Regions from separate parts of the Homo sapiens genome. Here all the other regions are linked to region 1. The links are contacts of gene promoters, found by promoter capture Hi-C in blood cells and fetal thymus (Javierre and others, 2016). All regions are on one chromosome and are shown on one strand. Each heading gives the region's core, a stretch centred on a gene start or on the middle of the fragment in contact. The rest is flanking DNA. Distances are from core to core; before and after follow the strand shown. Region 1 holds the start of B3GNT4 (UDP-GlcNAc:betaGal beta-1,3-N-acetylglucosaminyltransferase 4). Region 2 overlaps CFAP251 (cilia and flagella associated protein 251). Region 3 holds the start of BCL7A (BAF chromatin remodeling complex subunit BCL7A).

The links. Contacts are between HindIII fragments. The CHiCAGO score rates a contact against its expected background, and 5 or more counts as called.
Region 2: a contact is called between a fragment that was not itself captured here and the fragment with the promoter of B3GNT4 in region 1, in 4 of 17 cell types (erythroblasts, megakaryocytes, M1 macrophages and 1 more). The highest score is 5.9, in erythroblasts.
Region 3: the fragment with the promoter of BCL7A here is called in contact with the fragment with the promoter of B3GNT4 in region 1 in 1 of 17 cell types (endothelial precursors); the score reaches 5.1 in endothelial precursors.

The regions. Positions count from the first base shown.
Region 1 is chr12:122,202,063-122,206,066 of GRCh38, forward strand. It overlaps B3GNT4 (UDP-GlcNAc:betaGal beta-1,3-N-acetylglucosaminyltransferase 4), which reads left to right and starts at 1,647. Exons shown (of 3, transcript NM_030765.4): 1 at 1,647-1,739; 2 at 2,460-2,622. The coding sequence starts at 2,557. LRRC43 (leucine rich repeat containing 43) reads left to right here. Exons shown (of 12, transcript NM_001098519.2): 12 at 1,253-1,409. The coding sequence ends at 1,380. RefSeq lists a silencer at 1,332-1,961. The HindIII fragment of the contact is 10,141 bases long and covers 1-3,831 here.
Region 2 is chr12:121,999,909-122,003,912 of GRCh38, forward strand. CFAP251 (cilia and flagella associated protein 251) reads left to right here. Exons shown (of 22, transcript NM_144668.6): 20 at 1-36; 21 at 1,589-1,690; 22 at 3,744-4,004. The coding sequence ends at 3,856. The region is part of intron 1 of LOC124903038 (a long non-coding RNA gene); the gene reads right to left. Among named protein-coding and RNA genes, the nearest start is that of BCL7A, 20 kb to the right of the region's middle. The HindIII fragment of the contact is 6,065 bases long and covers 1-4,004 here.
Region 3 is chr12:122,019,620-122,023,623 of GRCh38, forward strand. BCL7A (BAF chromatin remodeling complex subunit BCL7A) reads left to right here and starts at 2,265. Exons shown (of 6, transcript NM_001024808.3): 1 at 2,265-2,564. The coding sequence starts at 2,473. RefSeq lists silencers at 2,144-2,223, 2,354-2,673, 2,824-2,983 and an enhancer at 2,818-3,633. The HindIII fragment of the contact is 6,381 bases long and covers 1-4,004 here.

The DNA.
Region 1 (4,004 bases), core at 397-2,896:
GCAGTGAGCTGAGATCGCGCCATTTCACGCCAGCCTGAAGAAGTAAACGTTGGAGGGCATATGCTGCTGGACTTCAAAACCCATGCCTATATGAACATGTGATTTGTGATACTTATCTGTGGGTTAAGATGGCCTTAAAAAGGTTTTTTTTTTTTTAATCTCTTTAATGTTTGGCTTAATTGAAGACAGCTGGATTCTTACAGCTACTTCTGCAGTCAACTGCTTGCAATATGTTGCTGTAATTGACGTGCACAAAGAAAATCCAACCTCAGGCCCATAATTGGAAAAGAGGGAGTATTTTAATAGACCTTAAAATAATATAATTTCTTTAATATTACACCAAATTTGACAAGTGGTAATTTCTTAAAGGTTGTTACAATGTGAAAACAATCTATATTGAATTTTTCATAATCAGATTAAAATTCATTAATCTAGTTTGCATTTTGAACGGATATTTTACCATGCAGTTTGTAACATGCATGAGTTACTTGTAAACTACAGGTTAACAGACTTATGCAGATATTCCAACAGTTGACACCTGTCACTATACATTTTCCAAAGATCACGTTCTTTACTATCACCACCCACATCATTAGAAAGGTCTTTGCGTATTGGAAAATTGGTAAATTCATGGTGGCAGATACAATGTTGTCTCATTTTTAGGGCAAATGTTATACATTTATTGAAATGCTTTCAGTTGTTTCCCCTGAAGTGCTATAATTACTTCATTTTTAAGAAAATATCTGCAGCTGGGCTCGGTAGTGTACGCCTGTGATCCTAGCACGTTGGGAGGCCTAGGCAGGCGGATCACTTGAGGTCAGGAGTTCGAGACCAGGCTGGCCAACATGGTGAAACCCCGTCTCTACTAAAACTACAAAAAATAGCCGGTCGTGGTGACAGGCGCCTGTAATCCCAGCTACTTGGAGGCTGACGCAGGAGAATCGCTTGAACCTGGGAGGCGGAGGTTGCAGTGAGCCGGGATCATGCCACCGCACTCCAGCCTGGGCGACGGAGCACGACACTGTCTCAAAGCAAAAAGCAGCCAGTCTTGCAACTCAAACAGCTGCGATTTATTAAATGATCTAATTAAATACAATTTAATTTTATTTCTTATTACTGTTAACACCCGAGGACCAAAACTGTGCTCCCGCTGGGACAGGGTCCAGGGCTTGCATATGGGATGGGTCAGGGCGGCCGAGAACGCCAGCCCATCCGTCTCCCGGGGCTCATGCTCGCACTTAAATTTTCTCAGAAAAGCCGAAAGCCGTGATTCCGATCTACGAAGGCGATTACCACCCTGAGCCCCTGACCGTAGAGGTGCAGATCCAGCTGAACCAGTGCCGCTCGGCGGAGGAGGCTCTGCGCATGTTCGCCGTGTAGGGCGTGGGCAGTAAAGGCTGTTCCCAGCACTCCCGCCTCCGCTTCTGTCCCGCCGCACGCGTCGGGGGGCGGGTGTGGCGCCGGCGTCCTGGGGAGGAGGAGCAGCCTCTGCCCGACCCGGCTCGTGCGGACCCCAGGACCGGGCGCGGGACGCGTGCGTCCAGCCTCCGGCGCTGCGGAGACCCGCGGCTGGGTCCGGGGAGGCCCCAAACCCGCCCCCGCCAGAACCCCGCCCCAAATTCCCACCTCCTCCAGAAGCCCCGCCCACTCCCGAGCCCCGAGAGCTCCGCGCACCTGGGCGCCATCCGCCCTGGCTCCGCTGCACGAGCTCCACGCCCGTACCCCGGCGTCACGCTCAGGTAGGTTGGGGGCCGGGACGCCGCTGCTGTGAGGGAGGCTGGGTCACCGTGCAGGGAGGGGCGTCGCCAGGGCGGCCGTGCCTTTGCACCCCGCGGCCCGCTCCCCGGTCCCCCAGGGTCCCCGCGAGGACGCCGGCCCCGCCCGGGTGCGGCGCGAGTCTGGCCTCGGCGGGCACGGCTCGGGGCCCACGGGCCGCTCGGCTTCGGTTCTCCAGGCTGGGGACAGAGGCTGGAGCCGGGCGCGGTAGACCCCGCCAGCCTGGGCCGCCCGCGCCCGACGCGCAGCGCTGCTGCCAACCCCGGCCCGGGGGTCCCCGCAGAGTGGGTCTCTGCTGCCGTCAGCCCTTCGGAGACTGTCGCGTTGAAAGAATGAACCAGAGTTCGCCCCCTGCCCGCGCCAGGGCGTTTTGGGTCACCGAGTCCTGTGGGGATCCGAGGCGGCTGCCGCCCAAGGCCGAGCGCAGCCTCAGGACCCGCGCCCCACCAGACGGGGTCGTGCGCTCCGCGGCGGGTGGAGAGCCGGGCTCTGGGGTCTCCGCGGCTCGGAGGGCGGCGGGGCGAGGCCGTGCGGCCAGCGCCTGGGGACGCCCGCGGCGGGACAGGGGCCACCCGGGCCGCGGCGCAGCCTGGGCTGAAACCTCCTGGGACGGAACCAAGCCACCTGCTGTGCGCCCTTCTCGGTGAATGGCACCGCCGCCCGCCCGGGCCTCTCGTCCACAGCCCGCGGTGCTCGCACACCTGAGACTCATCTCGCTTCGACCCCGCCGCCGCCGCCGCCCGGCATCCTGAGCACGGAGACAGTCTCCAGCTGCCGTTCATGCTTCCTCCCCAGCCTTCCGCAGCCCACCAGGGAAGGGGCGGTAGGAGTGGCCTTTTACCAAAGGTCAGATTCTTTCACCGCCTCTGCCAGACCCCCTTGTCCCCCACCCCCGCATAGATCTCCAGGGGGCTCAGAAAACTCTGGCCGGTGGCTCACGCCTGTAGTCCCAACGCTTTGGGAGGCCAAGGCGGGAGGATCGCTTGAGGCCAGGAGTTCCAGACCAGCCCAGGCAACAAAAGATACCACATCTCTACAAAAAATAAATTAGCCGGGCCCTGCACGCCTGTAGTCCCAGCTACTGGGGAGGCCGAGGCCGGAGGATCGCTTGAACCCAGGAGTTCCAGGCTGCAGTGAGCTATAATTGTGCCACTGCACTAGAGTCTGGGTGACAGAGACACTGTCTCAAAAAAAACCAACAAAACCCTTAGCTCTTTCACTAGCCGGGCTGGCCTCTTCCTACTGTAAACCTGCTGGGCCCCCGTCTCCCTTCTTTCTCCCCTCTCTCCTGCCCTGGAGCTGCCTGACTCTGCCCACGGCCTGCAGAGACCCCAGGTCTTCACGCAAGGTGCCATTCCTCACTCAGTTCTTGCTCAAACGTCCCTCCATCAAGGAGGGCTTTTTAGCTACCCTTGGCTATGGGATCCGTCCTCCGCGTCAGCCAATTCTCTGCATTAGACTGTAACTTCTCAACATACCTGGTTCCTATGCGTTTTGTGCTCCCCTCTGAGAGGGCAGCGACCCTGTCTTGCTTGCCACTGCATCCCTAGCACCTAGCAGTTGCTTTTCTGGTGACGGCGGCTGTGGCAGTGGCCAATGCGGCAGACTGGTCAGAAGTGAAGGGACAGGATGACTTGGCAGTGGAGGTCAAGGGGAGGGGACTGGGGCAGAGGGAGACACCAGAGGGACAAAAATGAGAAACTGAAGACAGGCTTTGCTACGTGGAGCTCGGGCAGGCCACACTGGTGGATTCTGTCTCCTCATCCTTCTTTTCAGGTCCCTGGGAGAAATCAGCACTTAGAACGTGGTGGGAAGGCGGGGCGGGGTGCCTCGGAAGCCATCCCTGATACAAGTCCCCAGCTTTCCTGCTTCCCCTCTTGTGGTGTGTGGCTTTGTCTCCCTCCCTCCCTCCTGGAAGCCCCGACCTCTGAGGCAGGTGTAAAGGGTGTGTGCTTTGGTGGCCACGGCCACCCTGTGGTGCTGGTTCTCCTCCGAGGGAAGCAGTGCACTCCTGGTCATCTTGGAGACGCCCAACACAGGACCCCACAGGCACCAAGCTTTTTTTGGGAAATGGTTTCACTTCCCACTTGAAAAGCCCTGAATGTCAGTTCCACACTTAGTGAATTTGATCCAAGCTAAACTGAGTCTGTGCCTAAAACTCATCAGGTGCTCGAGTTTCCTGGAAGAATGGCTGGGAACGTTTATGGTGTCAGCTGTAAAGTGGCTGC
Region 2 (4,004 bases), core at 923-3,422, 200 kb before region 1:
GAAGAGAGGACTTCCTGAGACTGCTCGTTACTAAAGGTAAGCACATACATCAGGATGTCTGGTAACATCCTGGGGCCATTCCCAGTGTAGAGAACTGAGTTTGGGGAGCCAGCCCCTGTGGAGCTCCATCTTTCATGAAAGAGGTGATTTGACCAGATTTGAGCCATGAGGGGTCTGGCTGACCCACCTGCATCCCTGGCAAGTACGAAGTAATGGGAGGGACCCGGAGCTAGAAAGCAAAAGAATGTGATTCGTGTTGCAACTACCTGAGCCTCAGCAAGACTCGGCATCCTCACTTGTAAAATGGGAATAAAAATGCCAGCTGATCCATCTCCCTGGGCTGTCATAAGATTTGGGTTGGGGCCGGGCGCAGTGGCTCATGCCTGTAATCCCAGCACTTTGGGAGGCCGAGGCGGGCGGATTGCTTGAGGTCAGAAGTTCAAGACCAGCCTGGCCAACACAGTGAAACCCCATCTCTACTAAAAATACAAAAATTAGCCGGGTATGGTGGCACACGCCTGTAATCCCAGCTACTTGGGAGGCTGAGGCAGGAGAATTGCTTGAACCCGGGAGGTGGAGGTTGCAGTGAGCCAAGATCACGCCACTGCAGTTCAGGCTGGGTGACAGAGCGAGACTGTCAAAAAAAAAAAAAAGAAAGAAAAAAAGAAAAGAAAAGAAAACAAATATTTGGATTGCATTTGTGAAATGCAACCACACCAAAGTAAACTTTTTAATTTTTACCTACTATGTTTCTCATTATTGTACATGAGGATGTCAAGTAAACTCTCTTGGGATGACAGTTTCATCTTAGTCCAAGTGGGTGGTTCTGAGAGGAGGGAATTTGAAATGAAGCAGAGCCTGGTCCCCGCAGCATGCTGTCCTATTTCTCTATGCCAGCCCCATGTATGTTCCTTGCCTGGAGGACCCTGTTTAACACCATTAGGAAGCATATGTGACAGTACCATGGGACTCTAGATCATTTTTGTGTCTAAAGAAAAGGGGCTGGGCGCAGTGGCTCACACCTGTAATCCCAGCAGTTTCAGAGGCTGAGGCAGGAAGATCACTTGAGCCCAGGAGTTCGAGACCAGCCTGGCCCAACATAGCAAGACTTCATCTCCACCAGAAAAGTTTTTATTGTTTTTGTTGCTTTTTTTTTTTTTTTTTTTGAGACAGAGTCTCGCTCTGTTGCCCAGGCTGAACTGCAGTGGCACGATCTCAGTTCACTGCAACCTCCAACTCCAGGGTTCAAGCAATTCTCCTGTCTCAGCCTCCCGAGTAGCTGGGATTACAGGCCGCGCCACCACACCCGGCTAATTTTTGTATTTTTAGTAGAGATGGGGTTTCACCATGTTGGCCAGGCTGGTCTCGAACTCCTGACCTCAAGTGATACGCCCACCTTGGCCTCTGCAAGTGCTGGGATTACAGGCATGAGCCACCACGCCCAGCCTAAATTTTTTTTTCAATTGAGTAAAAGAAAAAAAAATAGTGGGATAATTCTCTTTAAGACCTCTGAATAATAACGCTAAGCCCTGACAGTATGCTTAGCCTCAAGAGTTAAACAATCACCTTCTCACTCTTTGACACACAGGTGAGCATATGACGGAGGAGGAGATGTTGGATTGCTTTGCTTCACTGTTTGGCCTGAATCCCGAGGGATGGAAATCCGAGCCTGCAACCTGCTCCGTCAAAGGTACCCCAGCTGGCTTTGTCTGGGCATGTAGCTGTGGCTCACTGATTTGTTGTAGACTTCAGTACATTTATTTCTCCTGATCGGTGCAAGCCACTCTCCCTAAGACTGCACATAACAAAGCATGTCTGTTGGGAATCCCACATGAATAAGTTATGAAAAGAACAGTGAGTGGTGGCTTTTGTTCCCGCGCTCTGTCCGTCCTTTTGTTTCTTCTGGGCTTATTTTCCCTTTGTTCCACTGACCTGTCATCTTGCCGGCTTGGGTGGGTGAATATTGGCCACCCGTAGAGGATCCAGTTTGACAGCTGTTTCAGGAGAATAGGTATGTAAAGAGAGACTTGGGGGCCAGGCACCATGGCTCACGCCTGTAATTCCAGCACTTTGGGAGGCCAAGGCAGGAGAATCGCTTGAGGTTCAGAATTTGAGACTGGCCTGGGCAACATAGCGAGATCCCATCTCTACAAAAAAAAAACCAGGCTGGGCGCAGTGGCTCACGCCTGTAATCCCAATGCTTTGGGAGGCCGAGGAGGGTGGATCACATGAGGTCAGGAGTTCAAGACCAGCCTGACCAACATGGTGAAATCCCATCTCTACTAAAAATACGAAAATTAGCCAAGCATGGTGGCACACACCTGTAATCCCAGTTACTTGGGAGGCTGGGGCAGGAGAATCGCTTGAATCCAGGAGGTGGAGGTTGCAGTGAGCCGAGATCACACCATTGCACTCTAGCCTGGGTGACAAGAGCAAAACTCCGTCTCTAAATTAATTAATTAATTAAAGCAAAACAAAACAATTAGCTGGGCATAGCGGTGTATGCTTTTAGTCCCAGCTACTCAGGAGGCTTAAGTGGGAGGATGACTTGGGCCCAGGTGTTCACGGCTGCGGTGAGTGAGGATTGTGCCACTGTACTCCAGCCTGGGCAACAGAGTGAGAGCCTGTCTCAATTAAAAAAGAGAGAGAGAGAGAGAAAGATTTGGAGAAGGAGAGAGCATCAACTTGGTGGGCAGTACAAGCCCAGCTACAAGCTGCCAAAACTTTCAGGTTTTTAAAGATCATCCTCCTGTCCCTTCCTGCTATAGCCTAAGTATTTTTCACCTTTTCGTGCACTGGACCTGAAGTTAGGGCCGTGACTTTCAGCTCAGGAGGAACCAATCTAAACGGCTCTTCTAGGCTCACTGGTACAGGAGCAACTCTGCTGACAAGCCCGGGGATGGTCAGATCCCACCACCATCACCAAGACTGAGGAGGGTGCAAAGACCCCTCACCCATTCCCCTTTTCCCTCTCCTTTTATTGTCCATTCCCCACATCAAATTAAACAAAGTCCCTGAACTCAGATAATTTCAGACTCCAGTAGCTAACAGGTCATTCCCAACCTGCAAGCTCTCCCTACCCCATTCCTTTATGTGCTTCAGATCTCAGAATGTACCTTTCCTGATTGTTATATATTTCTGCTGTGTTCCCAGGCATCTTGAAACAGAAAAATCAATCATACCATGTGGTTAAGGCTTTCCAGTAAGGTTTGCAGAGATTTGGTTAACAGCGTTCTGTTCCGTAAAGGAGAGATTTTTAAGCAATTTCCACCCAGAGTTTTTCAAGGAATCAAAGCCAAATCACAGCACAAAGCCCCTCTTGTTTTTGTTTAGTAGCATTTCCTTGTGTTTTTGGAAAATCCTCCTGAGTTAGAAACATAGTCATTGAGGCCAGATGCGGTAGCTGTAATCCCAGCGCTTTGGGAGTCTGAGGTGGGAGGATCACTTGAAGCCAGCAGTTTGAGATCAGCCTGGGTAACATAGCGAGACCCCATCTCTACAAAAAAATTTTAAAATAAGCTGGGCGTGGTGGCGTGTGCCTGTAGTCCCAGCTACTTGGGAGGCTGAGGTGGGAGGATCACTTGACCCCAGGAGTTCAAGGCTGCAGTGAGCTATGATCGTGTCACTGCACTCCAGCCTGGGCAACAGAGCAAGGCCCTGTCTCAAACCCCTCCCCTCACCCAAAAAAGAAAGAAACATAATCATCATGAAGGCATTTGGTGTTCTTTTCTTGTTTTGGCTAGGTTCAGAAATTTGCCTTGAAGAAGAACTTCCAGACGAAATCACTGCAGAAATATTCGCGACTGAAATTCTTGGCTTAACCATTTCAGAAGATTCCGGCCAGGATGGTCAGTGAAGTTACCAGGAATGTTTAAAGCACAAAGGACTTTGGGTGTGTGTGCATGCACATGTGTGTGTTTTCCATGAGGCACTGCTTTTTATGCATTTCCCTCCCCCCTCTCATCTTTAGAACATTTAGACATTAAAGCAAGTTTCTGGTGAGC
Region 3 (4,004 bases), core at 1,015-3,514, 180 kb before region 1:
CTTGCCTCTGGCAACCACCAATCTGATATCTGTCTTTATGGATTCGCCTAGTTGTAGATATCTCCCGCAAATGGACTTACGCATATTTATCCTTTTGTGACTGGCTTCTTTCACTTAGCGTGTTTCAAGGTTCACCCATGTTGTAGCATGTATTCATTCCCTTTTATGGCTGAATAATATTCCATTGTGTGGATAGACACATTTATCTGTTCCTCAGTCACTATTTGAATTCTGACATAATATTTTCCTATTTTAAATTTTAAGATACATTTTTTTAAAGTTTCATGTGGCCCAAAGCACATACCTATTGATCTCACATATCTCTGTGAGATCTGTTTTATGACCTGCTGTTGCATATTTTCCCAGAAAATTCTCGGAACGATTCTCTGAAGTCCTTCTTTCTCTTTCTCTTTTTTTTCTTTTTCTTTCTCTCTTTCTTTTTTTGTTTTGTTTTGTTTTATTTTGTTTTGTTTTGTTTTTTTGAGATTCAGTTTTGCTCTGTTGCCCAGGCTGGAGTGCAATGGCATGATCATTGCACCTCTGCCTCCCAGGTTCAAGCATTTTCCTGCCTCAGCCTCCCGCGTAGCTCAGATTACAGGCCTGCACCACCACGCCCAGCTAATTTTTGTATTTTTAGTAGAGACAGGGTTTCTCCATGTTGGCCAGGCTGGTCTCGAACTCCTGACCTCGTGATCTGCCCACTTCGGCCTCCAAAGTGCTGGGATTACAGGCATGAACCACCGCGCCCGGCCTTTTTTTTTTTTCTGAGACAGGGTCTCACTCTGTCTCCCAGGCTGGAGTGCAGTGGCTGGATCTCTGCTCACTGCAACCTCCGTCTCCCAGGTTCAAGCGAGTCTCCTGCCTCAGACTCCCGAGTAGCTGCGATTACAGGAGCCCACCACCGCGCCCGGCTAATTTTTGTATTTTTAGTAGAGACGGGGTTTCACCCACCATGTTGGCCAGGCTGGTATCGAACTCTTAACCTCAAGTGATCCACCCGCCTCGGCCTCCCAAAGTGCTGGTATTACAGGCATGAGCCACCGCGCCCGGCCAGTATTTGTTCTTTTCTTCATTTTTCACGTCAGGAGACTGCGTTTCAGAATAGTAAAAACAAATGCCTAGGAAAAGGCCTGCGGTCTCTCCATTTCCACAGTAGCGTGTTCCCCAAAGACCAAACCCTCAGGGGAAACGTCTAGAATGAGTAACAACTTAAGGCTGCAACCTTAAACTTTCCCAGGACTCAGTTTCCCCAGCTGTGAAATGGCTGCTGTCGGGCTGTCATCTCCAGGCCCGGGGCGCTGACATTTGGGCCACTCTCGGTCTCCCTCTTCATTCTGGGCGCGCATTAGCTCTGGTCCGGCCGGTTCCGCTGCAGCTGAACAGCAAGATGCGGCACCCAGGTTACCCTGATCATCGCAGATTTCTCCCCGGGGCTCTGTTCTGAGGCCTCAAAAGTGCTCCTTGTAGATGGGACCAGGGGTCATTTGGGCAGTAGCAGCGCCTGGTCTCAGTCTGGTACTGAAGTCAGGAATGGCTTAAGGTGAAATCGTGGTCCTCTGGTGAAGCTCAGCGAAGACCCCCTCGCCTTGTTTATGACAAGAGAACTTCTGGGGGCGGGAGGAAGAGTCCCTGTTACGATGCTGATCATCATTGAGCTTTTGCTGAGCAGAAAACTCTTTAGTACTCAAGGTCGAGAGTCTCTGGTGGTCTGCCTGGCACCAGGCACCTTCCTACAACCCTAGTTTTCCAAAAGGACAAAGCCTGGGGCAGGCGACGTCCTAGCTCGCATTTGAACAGGGCCGCGGGCCAGCAGAGATGCGCGATGCCCAACTCTTTCCAAGAGCACCTCGCGTCCCGAACCGGTGCCTTCAACTCGGAGAAGTCAAGAGACCCGCAAGAAACTTGCACGACTGCACCCGCCGCCGCGCTCTGGGGGCTGGGCAGGGGCAGCTGGGCTGGCTCCCGGGGAACGCGACCCCCCCGCGCCCCGCAGACCGGCTGTCTCCCATGGACCCCTCGGCACCTGCAGCCTCCGAGGAAGGGTCAGCGCGCGTGTCCGCACGCCCGCCCCCACCGCGCGCCCAGAGCCGGGGGTCGCCGTGCGCCCTTCGCCACCTCCCCAGGAGGGCGTCCGGGGCGTCCCCTCTGGGGGCGCAGGAGGCCCGGGGGCGCTGCCCGGTGGCCGCGGCGCCCGGAGGCCGCACTGCCGGCGGCGGCGGCGGCGCGGCTCCCCCTGCTCTGTGCAGCTGCCGCCCGGCGCTTGCGCACTGGGCCAGGCGCGCGGCGGCCCCGGGCTTTGTGTGTGTGTGTATGTGTGTGTGTGTGTGTGTGTGTGTGTGAGTGTGTGCGTGTGAGAGTGCGAGTGTCTGTGCGCGAGTGAGTGAGCGGCGGGCGGGCGCGAGTGTGGCCGCCGCGGAGCGCGAGCAGGACCCGGCGGGCGCGCTCCCCAGCCTCCGTCTCCCCGCCGGAACCATGTCGGGCAGGTCGGTTCGAGCCGAGACGAGGAGCCGGGCCAAAGATGATATCAAGAGGGTCATGGCGGCGATCGAGAAAGTGCGCAAATGGTAAGCGGAGGCGCCCGCCGCCAGCCGCCTCCCCGGCCGCCCCGAGCCCGAGCGCGGCTCCAGAGAGCCGCGGGGCGCAGCGCCCCGGCCGCCTGCCCCGGCCCAGCCCCGCCGCGGGCCCCGGGACTTGGCGAGGGCGGGCGGACGGGCGGGCGGCGCGCGAGCCGGGTCACCTGCGCCAGGCTGGGGCCGCGGCCGCTGCCCAGGTGCGCTCGCGCCTGTAGCCCACCTGGCGCGGCGGCCCGGAGGCGGCGGGCGCCGGGGCCAGGCGGTTGGAGCGGCGGGGCGGCCCCCGCCGCGGCGCTCGGCTCCCGGGAGGGGGGCTCGGGGCCGGCCCCAGAAGCCATTTCGTTTTGTGCAAGTCACATGAAAGCGGCTTCCCGCGCGCCGGGGCCGCGATGCCGGCGGCGGCGGGGAGAGCGCGAGCTCCATTGTGCAGGCTCCGAGCGGGCCGCCGCCGCCGTCTCCTCCCCGCGCACCCCGGCCCGCGCCCCGCCGCCCTCCGCCAGCCCCGGCCCGCCCGGCCGCCCGCTCCCGCCTCCCGGGCCCGGCGCCCTCGAGTCTGCGGAGTTTGCAGAGCGCGAGCCGTTTAAATTTAGCGCTTTGGGCTGCCTGGAGCGAGGGCTCTCGGCGACCAGGAAAGATGGGGGCGAGCGCTGGGAGCCAGCGGCCAGGGGCGCGGGGCGCCCACGTCCCACCCCGCTCTGCGCGGCGCCCCGGGCGGGGGGCTCGGGCCAGCCGATGTTTTTGGCCAGAAGCCGTTCGTCCTGGGCCGCGGCTGCCTCTCCACACCGGGAGCTCGTGTTTGTTTTGCGGAGGGAGCTGTTGTTTTTGTTCTCTGCACCGGGGAGAGGGGGACTTGGTGGCGGCCGCGCGTGGTTTTCGGGATCACATTAGCGTCCGCCCGGCGTGGCCCGGTCGACATTAAGGGGATCGAACCTTTCCGCGGCCTCGTCGGGGTCTGCTCGGAATCGGCCCCTGGGCCAGGCCCGAGGCGCAAGCAGATCGCCAGGTTGGGTCAGAGTTGTTGAAAACTCCCCGCTGCCTGATTTCAACTTTATTATTTTTTTCCCACGCCTTCACTGGGGTCCCGGAGGGAGAGGAGCCGCCGCAACGCTGGCTCTGAGTGTCAGCGCCCGCGGGCTCGTCTCGACCCTTTATTTCGAGCCTGGAAGCTGGGCAGGCCCTGTGGCAGGGGATGTTTACGTTTGGGGGTGTCGTTTCTCGAGTAGCGCCTCGGTCTCTAAAAGCCACTGGGGGCGAGCCTCCGGTGTGGCGGTGTCACAAGTTAGCTGTCCTTTCTGAGTCAAACCCAACAAAAAAGGCAAGAGGAAAATCAATAAAGTCCACGTGCTCCCCGGCCTCCTATGGAAAGGGCTGGCTGCGATGGCCGGATGCCCGGCCGTGGGCTGGGTTTGGCTCCAGTGGGACAAAGAATTT